2 separate regions of the Homo sapiens genome follow, and region 1 is linked to region 2. The links are contacts of gene promoters, found by promoter capture Hi-C in blood cells and fetal thymus (Javierre and others, 2016). All regions are on one chromosome and are shown on one strand. The core of a region is centred on a gene start or on the middle of the fragment in contact, and the rest is flanking DNA. Distances in the headings are between cores, read along the strand shown.

Region 1 (6,464 bases), core at 2,599-5,098, 120 kb after region 2:
AATGATTGAATTCAAATTATTGTCAAGTAAAAATTCATAAAGTAGACAATAATCATACAGATGCACAACAATAAAAGATGTGATACAGAAACACTCAGCGAGCCTGCCATATTTGTTATTGTTCGTTTTTGAACTGCATGATGGTAGAAGGTTCTCCTTGCAATTTTAACTTTGCATACATTTATTATTTGATTTAACCCACCACCACAACAACCGCCATCACTCACTGATTCACCAAAAATTGGGTAAATAATAATGTATATATTTTTTGAGACGGGGTCTTGCTCTGTTGCCCAGACTGTAGTGCAGTGGCAAGATCACAGCTCACTGCAGCCTGGACTTCCCTGGGCTCAGGTGATCCTCCCACCTTAGCCTCTTGAGTAGTTAGGACTATAGGCAAGTGCCACCACAGCCAGCTAATTTTTTATATTTTTGTAGAGACAGGGTTTCACCACGTTGCCCAGGCTGGTCTCAAACTCCTGGGTTCAAGTGATCCACCTGCCTCAGCCTCCCGAAGTACTGGGATTTTAGGCATGAGCCACTGCACCCAGCCCAATAATGATCTTCCTTATTTTTATAAATATTTCTTAAATATAGAGATATTTCGCCGGGCAAGGTGGCTCATGCCTGTAATCCCAGCACTTTGGGAGGCCGAGGCGGGTGGATCACGAGGTCAGGAGATCGAGACCATCCTGGCTAACATGGTGAAACCCCATCTCTACTAAATGTACAAAAAATTAGCCAGGTGTGATGGCGGGCGCCTGTAGTCCCAGCTACTTGGGAGGCTGAGGCAGGAGAATGGTGTGAACCTGGGAGACAGAGCTTGCAGTGAGCCGAGATCGCGCCACTGCACTCCAGCCTGGGCGACAGAGCGAGACTCCGTCTCAAAAAAAAAAAAAAAAAAGGGATATTTCACATTTATTTCAGTATTTGATGTTTGAAGTGTTTTGGGTCTTTATTTAGAATTTTAGTGATGTTTTTGTGACAGAAATATGCTGTAGGAGCTTAAGTTCTTGTTTATATCAATTAGCCTATGGTAAAATTGGTTTCTTTATACATTGTTTTGCCTATAGTCACAATTTCCAAGAACCTGTGGATGACATTAAGTGAGGACTTTTGTTGTATTGGTAATTAGAGAGGCAGAGGGTCATGTTTGAAGAAGACCTACCTTTAAGGGATGGGAGGAAAAGGAAATAATTTTAAAAAGGGAAGGAGGAGTCAGAATGTTGGGATAACCAGGAAATTAGCTTGTCAAGGAAGTGTTAGTGGGGAGGATGTGATCAAAATTGTTGATGTGATGACTTATAAAGGATTTCCCATCTGTTTCAGTTTTCATTAGATACCCTTTTTTCGTGAACTCTTGGAGCCATTTTGTCCATAATTTTATAATACGTATATATACATATATATTTTTTTTAATTTATTTTTTTGAGAGGAAGTTTCACTCTTGTTGCCCAGGATGGAGTGCAGTGGCACAATCTCAGCTCACTGCAACCTCCACCTCCCAGGTTCAAGCGATTCTCCTGTCTCAGCCTCCTGAGTAGTTGGGATTACAGGTGCATGCCACCACGTCCAGCTAATTTTTGTATTTTTAGTAGAGACCAGATTTCATCATATTGGTCAGGATGGTCTCGAACTTCTAACCTCAGGTGATCCACCCGCCTCAGCCTCCCAAAGTGCTGGGATTACAGGCGTGAGCCACTGCACTCGGCCAGTTTTATATAATAATAAGTAATAATTTTGTAGGCCGGGCGCAGTGGCTCATGCCTGTAATCCAGCACTTTGGGAGGCCGAGGAGGGCGGATCACCTGAGGTCAGGAGTTCGAGACCATCCTGACCAACATGGTAAAACCCCATCTCTACTAAAAATACAAAAATTAGCCAGCGTCGTGGTGGGCGCCTGTAATCCCAACTACTCGGGAGGCTGAGGCAGGAGAATCGCTTGAACCCAGGAGGCGAAGGTTGCAGTGAGTCGAGATCATGCCATTGCACTCCAGCCTGGGTGACAGAGTGAGACTCCGCCTCAAAACAAACAAACAAACAAAAAAAAACGAAAAAAAAGGTCGGGCTTGGTGGCTCATGCCTGTAATCTCAGCACTTTGGAAGGCCGAGGCGGGCGGATCACGAGGTCAGGAGATCAAGACCATCCTAGCTAACACGGTGAAACCCTGTCTCTACTAAAAATACAAAAAAAATTAGCCGGGCGTGGTGGTGGGCGTCTGTAGTCCCAGCTACTTGGAAGGCTGAGGCAGGAGAATGGCGTGAAGCCGGGAGGCGGAGCTTGCAGTGAGCCGAGATTGCGCCACTGCACTCTAGCCTGGGAGACAGAGCGAGACTCCGTCTCAAAAAAAAAAAGTAATAATTTTGTAAAGCACCTTACAGTTTACAAAGAGATTTAACAACCTCTTCCAATTCTCTCAACTTCCCTGTGTGGTCTATGTTGTCCCTGTTTAGTAAATGAGGAAATGGAGGTTCAAGAGACAGTAACTTGCCTAAGCAACAGAGCTTGAGCTGCTGTAGGTCTTCTGATACTCTGTCTCCTTTGATAATCTTGTTTGCCTAGTTAGATTGTAAATTTCTTGAAGCCTGAATCTAACCAGTTATTTCTTTTTATTCTTTATAGCACCTAGCTCCATGCTGCGCAGGAAATATAAATATTCAAACTAGATTGACTGGACTGGCCGTGGTCAAAAATAACTTGCCCTTTCTCCCTTCTGCCCTCTAGCGCCCTCACAAAGCCAATGCTGAGGAGATGACCAAGTACCACAGCGATGACTACATTAAATTCTTGCGCTCCATCCGTCCAGATAACATGTCGGAGTACAGCAAGCAGATGCAGAGATGTAAGTCCATTCTGTTCCCTCACACTCTGAAGCCGCCAGTTGCATCTCCCTTTCCACTGTAGAGGCCCATTCTGCCGTCCTCGCACCTCCCATTCAGTGGACACCTGATTTCCCCTACCTCCTAAAGGTGCCAGAGTGCTTTTTCCCCTCAAGTCGGATTTTTCATGTTTCCTGATTTGTAAACGATAGAGGTAGTACTTTTTCTGGTTATGTTCACAACACTGTCCCAAGAGTACTGTAATTATTGTAGTGGAAAAAGCACTGACCTGGGACGGGGAGACAATAGATACAGTAAAATTTAACTCTAACTCTCAGCTGAGTGGGCAAGTCACTTCCCCTCAGATTCTTCTTTTGTAAAGTGGGCTGGGCCACATGATCTCTGATTTCTGTCCAACTGTAACTGTTTTGACTTAGTGGGTATTAATTGAGAATTTAGAGGCCACTCAGGACAGATTCTAGATGGTGTAATCTTTGAGATGAGGTGATGCTGCCCCTGATCCCTTGGACTTGAACTTCAGAGCAGGTCCCATCTTGGAAGCCACGCTTAGTTTGTAGGAATCGTGGGAATTATTTTAGCTGTGAGGGGGAAAAAAAAAGTATTCAAATTTGGGACAAAACTATCATACCTGACTTCCCCCTTGTGTTATTTTAGAAATTATCTCTTAGCACCTAAGACTTCATATAGTATAACAGCACTGTCCAGAAGAAGTTTTGATTAACTTATGACAGCTTATATGGAAGTGTCAGAAAATATGCGGCACTTGTTTGTTGCTGCTGACCACAAGGTAGTCTTACTCCCAAGGAAGAAAGTTATTTATAACTATTATTACAACTAATAATAACTGTACAGTGGTATTGATGGCAGAACCACAGAGACCTTCCTTGAAGCATTAAGCTTCTTTGCTACCGACAACTCCAGGAGCTGCCAGCTGCTGTGAGTGAGGTGTTTGCTCTCTGAATTGCAGGGTCTTATTTCCCTCCAAGATGAGGCAAATTCATGCCTTTCCTGTAGATGGCTTTAGAGGTTTCCATAACCCATTTAGGCCAAGGATCAGGCTCTACTCTCAGCACAGTGGGCTCTCACTAGAGGAGCAACTTGCTATTAAAGTAAGAAAATAAGCTTTCATGTCTTAGTTTGAATCCTTGGTTTCCTAGCCCCTCTGGTGTTATTTCCCGCCCCTGCCACTTTTTTTTGAGACAGAGTTTCGCTCTTGTTGCCCAGGCTGGAGTGCAATGGGGCGATCTCTACTCACCACAACCTCCGTCTCCCGGCTTCAAGCGATTATCCTGCCTCAGCCTCCTGAGTAGCTGGGATTACAGGGATGTGCCACCACGCCCGGCTAATTTTGTATTTTTAGGTTTCTCCATGTTAGTCAGGCTGGTCTCAAACTCCCGACCTCAGGTGATATGCCAGCCTCGGCTTCCCCAAGTGCTGGGATTATAGGCCTGAGCCACTGTGCCCGACCTGTTTTCCCTCTTTAAGAGGAAGACAGGACAGGCACAGCGGTTCATGCCTGTAATCCTAGCACTTTGGGAGCCCAAGGTGGGAGGATTGCTTGAGCCCAGCCAGGAGTTTGAGACCAGCCTGGGCAACATAGTGAGACCCTCATCTCTACAAAAAAATAAAAAAATTAGCTGGGCATGGCGGTGCACACCTGTGGTCCCAGCTACTCAGGAGGTTGAGGAGGGAGGATCTTTTGAGCCTGGAAGGTCGAGGCTGCAGTGAGCCATGATTGTACTACTGCACTCCAGCCTGGGCAACAGAGCGAGACCAAAAAAAAAAAGACATTAGTGCCTATTTCATAGTCAAGGATGGGGGAATAAGTGAAGATAATATATTTAAATATATATAATATGTCTACCCTCAATGAATTGCTTTTGCTATTTTTGCTATTGCATAATCACTTTTGCTATTATGACTTACTATTTTTATTATTTACAAACTTATCAAGGCAGACAAAATGCTATGCCCTGAGGAGTGTGCAGGTTCTGCTCTGGTGCGCCAATTTTTCCGAATCCAGCATTCTAAAGTTGTACATTAAAAAATTCAGTCTGGCTGGGTGTGGTGGCTTACGCCTGTAATCCCAGCAGTTTGGGAGGCTGAGGCAAGCAGATCACCTGGGGTCGGGAGTTTGAGACCAGCCTGGCCAACATAGTGAAACCCCATCTCTACTAAAAATACAAAAATTAGCTTGGTTTGGTGGTACATGCCTGTAATTCCAGCTACTCAGGAGGCTGAGGCAGGAGAATTGCTTGAACCCAGGAGGCAGAGGTTGCAGTGAGCCAAGATCGCGCCACTGCACTCCAGCCTGGGCGACAGAGCGAGACTCCGTCTCAAAAAAAAAAAATTCAGTCTGGGTGCCTATAGTCTCAGCTACTTAGGAGGCTGAAGCAGGAAGATTTCTTGAGCCCAGGAGTTCAAGGCCAGTCTGGGTAATATAGTGAGACCTGGTCTCTAAAAAAAATTTTTCTAATTAAAATAATTAGGTCTTGGATTTTTCTGTCATCAGAAATGGGGGCAGGAAGAATAAGCCTCTCTAAGAACTTCAGAGTACCTCACTGAGTTGATTTGTAGGGTTATGGAGGGTCAGAGTAGACAGAGACTTTAGATGTCACTTAACACAGTGCTTTATAACCTGGGGTATCTACCAAGACAGTAATGAGCCCTTTTTAAAAAAAGAATTATTTTTATTTTTATTCTTGTTTTTAGAGATGGGGTCTTGCTTTGTCATCCAGGGTACAGTACAGTGGCAAGATCATAGCTCACTGCAGCCTCAAATTCCTTAATCCTTAACTTGCCCTTTTAGAATATGTACCAATATCTAACCTAGGCGCTGGACATGGTAGCATGCACCTGTAATGCCAGTGCTTTGAAGGGCAAGGCAGGAGGGATAGCTTGAGGCCAGGAGTTCAAGACCAGCCTGGGCAGCATAGTGAGACCCCCATCTCTTATTTTATCTTAAAAAAATAAAAATAAAAAATTAGTTGTGTATGGTGGCACATGCCTGTGATTCTGGCTACTCAGGAGCCTGAGGCAGGAGGATCCCTTGAGCCCAGTTCAGGGCTGCATTGAGGTATGGTCTCATTTCGCCACCACACTCCAGCCTGGGCAACATAGCAAGAACTCGTCTCAATAAAAAAAAAACACACATGGCCAGGCGTGGTGGCTCATGCCTGTAATCCCAGCACTTTGGGAGGCCGAGGTGGGCGGATCACGAGGTCAGTACATCGAGACACCATCCTGGCTAACACGGTGAAACCCCGTCTCCACTAAAAATTTACAAAAAATTAGCCGGACGTGGTGGCAGGCGCTTGTGGTCCCAGCTACTCGGGAGGCTGAGGCACCAGAATGGTGTGAACCCGACAGGCGGAGCTTGCAGTGAGCCGAGATCACGCCACTGTACTCCAGCTTGGGCGACAGAGCGAGACTCCTTCTCAAAAAGAAAAAAAAAAAAACCCACACACACACAAAAACATCCCACACACCTAATCTAGGAAGTTATGCTTATGATAAGATCGAGTAAATCAGGTTTCCTTGCTTGTGGCTGAAATGTAATAAACCCTTTCTGGTCACTTTGAGAGCCTTGACCAGAAGTTCTGACCTAATATTTAGCAAGTGAA
Region 2 (6,706 bases), core at 2,939-5,438:
CTTGGGGATTCTACTTCTTCCTGTGTGGGAGCCCATAGCTGTTGTCTAACAGGTAAGAAATGAAATTGAACTATTGACTGGGCCCCAGAAATCCATAAAATGGCTGCAGACAGTTGTTTCTGTGTCCTGTTCTACCCCCACTCCAGTACATAACTACTATGTACTGTGTAGAGCCATTCTATATGCTGAATGTTCTGCTGTTGCAAACTTGCCAGGGTATTAGCCAGTGTTTGTGCCAAGCAGTTTTCTGGGACAACAGAATGACTCAGACCAAGATGGATAGGATGGTTAGGGCTTTGCTTCTTGCTGTTTTTCTTTGAAGCTAGTTCATTGTCCTGCAGGTCCCTTCATCTTCCATACCTAGCCCACTCTTTTAGCCCTTACCTTAAATCTCTCAGATAAGTTGGTTCACAAAGAATGTTAAGTACTGAATCATGTGTGACTGAGACCAGAGATGGCAAATGAATGGCACACCATTTCTCCTTCTCCTGCCCCAGGGCAGGTACCACTGATCTGCATCAGAGTTGCCTGCTATTCTCTGGTGTATCCTTCACATCTAGGTGCCCTCAAGCAGCTGTGTGAGTGTTGAGATCTCTGCCATCTCTGGCTGAGATACTGCTGTCCTGTGAAGTGTTTCCCATGACCTTTTTCTTCCCCTTTGAATCCCTCTGTCTGGAGTAGTCCTTGCCTCTTCCTGCTCCAGTAGGGCCTTTTCCCTACCCCAGCCCCTGTGCCAGGCTAAGCTGGTACAAGAGCTGCCAACCTCACAGAGTGTTTGCTAGGCGAGAGAGGTGCAGGGAAGAGGCAGAGGTATGCACCTTCCCCCTTGAAGAGAGGGGAAAGGCCTACAGTGGCCCACATAATTGCCTGACTCACACTTCAGCTACCTCTTAATGCCTGTGGAGGGACTGGAGCTGCTGGATCCCAGTGTGGTGGTGTAGGAGGCCACAGTGAGCAGGTGGCCCCAGCTGGGTTTCCCAGGTCAGGAATGTGGGCCCCAGGCAAGGTGCAGCCTTTGCTCACAGCTCCATCCATGTCTAGACCTTCAGGCCAGTCTGCAGATGAGGTTCCCTACCTTTTTCTTCTCTTCATTGACCAAATCAACCAATCACTACAGCTGCTCTGCTTCTGCTTTCCAAAGTAGCCCAGGTCCTGGGCCAGATGCAGGGGAGGTGCCTATCCATGAGTGAAGGCCAGTGTCTTCCTCACCTGGGTGGGTCCCACACTTGTGACCTCAGTTTTAGGACCAAGATCTGTGTTGGTTTCTTAGATTGCTAGCTTTTCCTCCAGGGGACCACAGCAGGTGAAGCTCAAGAGCGCATGGCTCTGCTAATAGTAAATTGTTTTCAGGGCCTTGTCCAGCTGAGAGCTTCATGTCCACCAGATTCTGAGAGGTGTCAGCAGCACTTTTTTTTTTTATTTGTTGTTTGTTTTCCATGAGGTTATCGGACCATGGGCTGAGCTCAGGCACTTTCTGTAGGAGACTGTTATTTCTGTAAAGATGGTTATTTAACCCTCCTCCACCCCATCACGGTGGCCCTGAGGGCTGACCCGGAGGCCAGTGGAGCTGCCTGGTGTCCACGGGGGAGGGCCAAGGCCTGCTGAGCTGATTCTCCAGCTGCTGCCCCAGCCTTTCCGCCTTGCACAGCACAGAGGTGGTCACCCCAGGGACAGCCAGGCACCTGCTCCTCTTGCCCTTCCTGGGGGAAGGGAGCTGCCTTCTGTCCCTGTAACTGCTTTCCTTATGGCCCAGCCCGGCCACTCAGACTTGTTTGAAGCTGCACTGGCAGCTTTTTTGTCTCCTTTGGGTATTCACAACAGCCAGGGACTTGATTTTGATGTATTTTAAACCACATTAAATAAAGAGTCTGTTGCCTTACTTGTTTCTCTCCTGACCTGTGTATTCCTTTGTTTCTGGATCTGATCCATTCAGCCCCTTCCATCATCACTGACTTGTTCAGGTCTGCTGCAGAGCGCCCATGGTGGTTCCCTGGTATCTTACATATTCCACAGTGTCTTTGAGCAGTCGCCACAGCCTCAGGATGCTGGCATATTCACTTGAGCTGCCTGAGTGGAGCCCTTGGCAAAGTTGGCAAGACCCTTGCCTCAGAGAGGATCACACACACACAAAAAAGTTTTCCCTGACCTGGGGGCTCACAGGCTAGTGAAGGGAAAAGGTACTTTTAGCTATAGACAGGTCAATGGTGCTGAGAGCAGAGAGGAGGCCCCTGCCCCCTTCAGCAAGGTGAGGGGGTGATACCTGGAATGGCCTTCTGAACCACAGGGCAGGTAGAAGATGAACGTCATTTAGTGATTAAATGGTACAGCTGGGAAGCAGGTCCATGGGACTGGGAGAGGGGGTGAGGCTGGGCCCAGAGTCTGGGTACCAGGTTAAGGAATGTGGGCTAGATCCAGAGGGCAGGGGGGGCAACTGAAGGTGTTTCAATAGGAAATTGATAGGCTCCAGCAGTAAGGCAAAAGGCATGGAGCCAGGCATAGGCCATTTGAGGCCCAGGTTAAGAGGGGTGGACACTCATCACTGCTATTTGGGTCTGAGCTGTGGGTAGGCTCCTATAGCCCTGGCCTGCCCAAGGGAATTCACAGGGGCCTCTAATTGTATGCATTCCTTAAGGAGAGCACATTCTCTGTTCAGTTTTTACACCCCCCATTTACCCACCTCAAGCATGGGACTCCTATATGGGAGACATGCTGCTGGTGGCCTCACCCAGCACCCTGTTCTCTCTGGGTCCTGGGTTGGTCAGGCACAAAGGATGATATGTGCTGAATGCCCAGGAAATGGCAGAGACAACCCACCTGCCCTTCCCTCCAGGCCTCCACAAATAGATGTGCCCACAATGACTGTGACAGTCCCAGCAGAGCCTCTGACCCTTCTAGCTGGGTCCTGATACATGTTTTCCATGCTGGCCATGTTATTTCTAGTCGCAGATCCTCTGGAGGGTGTGGGGGGGGTGCCGCCCCAACTCTTGGAGATTCCAAGCAAAGCAGCTCTGAGAATAATGAGGTTTCTGACCCCCCAGTGAAGCAGCTGAGGATGGGAACCACAGGGGTGCTCCCTCTGTCAGCAGCATTACCACTGTCTACTCTAGCAGCTCCGGTGGGGAAGGAGAGGGATTTCTGTTGTCCCCAGTCTGGGCCCCTGGTTATTGAAAAAGTTCGGAATTACTCTTTACCCTTGTGGAGTGTTCTGAGTGTTGGAAGTACCCAGGAAGAAGCCCTGAGCAGGTGCCCTCAGGAGCAGTGCCCATGGCTCCCCACATCAGCCAAGAGGCCCAACCCCAGGAAGCCACTCCTGCCCGGGGATGGGGAAGGTGGGCTGGGTGGCTGTGTGCACTGCCCTGGGCCAGCTCACTTGAGCCTGCTGAGCCGCCTGGCCAAACATGAGCCTCTCTCCTGTTGTATCAGATGCTGTTCTGGGGACCTGCGCCAGGAGCCTCTGCCAGGGCTTTAAATAGCTGCCCCCATTGATCTGGCTGCAGGCAGCAGCAGTCACACTGGGTCAGCCTCCATCAGGTGCTCAGGTTTCCCTGAGGACTGGAGTCAGGTGCCAGGGAATCGCGTGGTCTACCTTATGACCTGGTGCTCCCCACACCTGTCTCCTAGGCCTGGGGGGTGGGGAGGACTCCTGTCACTTCATCTGCGGCAAAATACAGCCCCCACCACTTACCAGAGAAAACTGTCTGGCATTGTAGAGAGAGGGGTTTTGCCCTCAAAAGACTGTTGCTTACTTTCAGTAGAATGGGGAATGACACTGGTATCTTCCTTAAGGGTTGTTATGGGGATGAAATGTATGTAAAGTGCTCAATAGGGCACTGGACTCACTCCATTGATGGCTGTCTTTGCTCGAAGTGTCTTCCTGATGCTGCTGCTGTTGCTGCTTGTGCTTCTTCTGTGCTTACATTCTCTCTCTCTCACTCACTCACTCTGTCTCTCCTCTCCCCCGCCCCACCCCCTTTCTGACAAAGCCACCACCATTTTGTAAGGAACTGTAGCTTCTCTCTGAAACTGCCGGGAAAGGGAAAATCTTTTTAAAATAGACATCACACAACCAACAGGGTCCCCTAGGTTCAGGCGGGGAGGTGAGGTCGAGTGAGAGGAACTGCTTAGCATACGCGGGGATGCTCCTCCCATCTCACCCCACCGCGCTAAGGAGAAGGTCACTTTCTCTTTAAATGCAAATGAACTCCCTCCAGCTTAGCTTTCACCCGGTGGTGTTCCCGGGAGGAGAGGGCGGAGGGCGGAGGGAACTTGCACCGAAGCATCACTCGAGACCCCAAACCTCCAGGTCAGTAGCCCCCTGAGGGAGTGAGGGCGGGGGCGGAATGACGCGGGTCTGACGCTCTGTCTTCGAGCGCGGCTGCGGAGCTGAGCGATGAGTTTGGCACATGGCTTTGGAGCCCGGGCTTGGGAAATAGATCCCCGGTCGCCCCAGCCGCTCCTGGGGAGCACAGGCTCCGGCTCCAGTTCTTCTATCAGGTCCCTAATTGGGTCAAGCTGCTGCACGGAGAGGCAGAGGATGCGCTCCTATCTCCCCTCCCCACACCCGCAGACCCCGTCAGTGGCAGCCAGCTATGTGTCAGTGTAAATGCTTAAGCGCCACCCACCCCCCCAACCCCCCCAGTCCCAGAATTCGAAGTTAGGCTCGGTAGCAGCAGCCTGGAATGAGACCCCCAGAGGAGGGAACCCCAGCCGACCGGAGGCTTGGGGGGCGCTGCTGGACCGGGGACCTCGGAGCAGCCCAGCCACAGGCGCAGCCTTTGTCGGAGGCCCAGGCAGCCAGCGGCCAACCACCCAGTCCACCCTGGCTGCAGCTGAAGCCCAGCAGGGACTTTCCGACTGGGAAAAATGAAGCAGCTGAAAGCACACCCGCGGGACCTATAGGGAGTCCCTAATATTTTCGGTTGGGGGTGGGTGGAAGTGGAGGGATGCCGGTGTCTATGTGGGGGAAACCCACAATGAACCCTGCCCTGTATGCTGCGGCTTCTCCTACAATTACCCACACGCTGGGGCTTTCCCAGGCGCCCCTACCTGCACCTTGTCCCCCTCCCATGCTGACAGGGTTTGTTAGCATCTGCTTAGGCCCCTGATAAATAGAATAGGGTTTAGTTAAGACATCCCTAATCTTCGGCTGGGCTTCTGCAGCTCACCTCCGTCTTGTCTCCCACTACATTTCCTCTGCCAGCCCCGCCCCCCAGCCACCGTGACAGGAAGCCCCAGTAGCGCCAAGATAGTTGTGACTGGTCCCACCCTTTCAGGAGGGGCCTAGGTTTTCAGGCAGAAGGGGAATTAGGTTGGGCCTTAGAAGGTCCTTCAAGTGTACATCCACGATCCCAGCAGCAGACACTGGCATCTGGCTCTGCCCCTACCGTATAGATGAGGTGACAAGCTGGAAGGTCCCAGGGCCCTTCCTTGGTGCAGCTCTCAGGGATTTCTGGGTGAAGGGCTAACTTTGCCCCTGGCTATCTTTGTGGGGTTGCTTCCCTCCTAGGCCTGAGGCCCAGCCAGCGCCCAATGGATGACAAAAAGAAGAAACGGAGTCCCAAGCCCTGCCTGGCCCAGCCAGCCCAGGCCCCAGGCACACTACGGAGGGTCCCTGTGCCTACCAGCCACAGCGGCTCCTTGGCCCTAGGACTTCCTCATCTGCCATCCCCCAAGCAGCGGGCCAAGTTCAAGAGGTGGGTACAGAAGGGAAGGAAAGGAGGAGGGACCCCAACTCTGGGTTGCACTGTAGAGAGGAAGGCAAGGGGGGCCTCCGCCTTTAGTTCCTAAGCAATAATTGATGCCTTTCTGGAGCAGACCCCTGAGAACTCAGAGCTCACTCAGACCCAGTCCCTACCCTCAACTGTGTGGCAAAAAGGCCAGGTGGGTCACTGGGATCACATAGCGTGAGGATTCGCCTCAGAGGAGGGAGTGAGCAACTCTGCAAGAAAGTGAATGTTCCACGCTGAGAGGCTTACCTGGTATAAATATGGAAGAAAGCTATTACCTGAAAGGTTTCAGGAACCACAGGTGGTTTGGGGGCCCTGGAGTATCAGGGAACAGGAAATGGTGAGGAAATACCTGGGGGCACAATTTGAATTCTCTGTTGAATTTTTTTTATGATTGGGAGTTTGCATGCTGCCTTATAATGTGTCCATGTTTGTTCCCCACTAAATACAATGTATTCTTTCTCCAGTTGCTCCAGATAAGACCACTGTGTTTCCCCCTGGTTTTGCACACCACTTGCCTAAGGGGCATGAAGCTCAAGGCTGTGGGGAGAGTAGCAGGAAAGGCAACTGGGAAGGCAGGAGGGCCAGGCTGGCAGGGGCATTCAATTTTATCCTGAGAGCAGTGGAAATTTTAAGACAGTTTTTTTGGTTTATTGGTTTGGCTTTGTTTTCTATGTATTTTTGTTTTTGTTTAAAAGAGTTTTTAAATAGAAGAGGGTTGGCTGGGCATGGTGGCTCAGCCTATAATCCCAGCACTTGGGGACGCTGAGGCAGGCAGATCACCTGAGGTCAGAAGTTTGAGACCAGCTTGGTCAACATGGTGAAACCTCATCTCTGTTAAAAATACAAAAGTTAGCCAGGCGTGATGGTGGGTGCCTATAATCCCAGCAACTTGGGAGGCTGAGGCACAAGAATCACTTGAACCTGGAAGGCAGAGGTTGCAGTGAACCGAGATTGTGCCACTGCACTCCAGCCTGTGT

What was found. The method cuts DNA at HindIII sites, captures the fragments that hold promoters and counts their contacts. A CHiCAGO score of 5 or more calls a contact.
Region 1: a contact is called between a fragment that was not itself captured here and the fragment with the promoter of CCDC28B in region 2, in 13 of 17 cell types (endothelial precursors, total B cells, megakaryocytes and 10 more). The highest score is 14.9, in endothelial precursors.

What each region holds. Positions count from the first base shown.
Region 1 is chr1:32,313,940-32,320,403 of GRCh38, forward strand. It overlaps HDAC1 (histone deacetylase 1), which reads left to right. Exons shown (of 14, transcript NM_004964.3): 3 at 2,726-2,843. Among named protein-coding and RNA genes, the nearest start is that of MARCKSL1, 19 kb to the right of the region's middle. The HindIII fragment of the contact is 225 bases long and covers 3,737-3,961 here.
Region 2 is chr1:32,196,407-32,203,112 of GRCh38, forward strand. It overlaps CCDC28B (coiled-coil domain containing 28B), which reads left to right and starts at 4,189. Exons shown (of 6, transcript NM_024296.5): 1 at 4,189-4,303; 2 at 5,507-5,693. The coding sequence starts at 5,530. TXLNA (taxilin alpha) reads left to right here. Exons shown (of 11, transcript NM_175852.4): 11 at 1-1,879. RefSeq lists enhancers at 2,848-3,406, 3,407-3,964, 4,177-4,256, 4,515-5,034, 4,947-5,166 and 2 more. The HindIII fragment of the contact is 8,664 bases long and covers 1-6,706 here.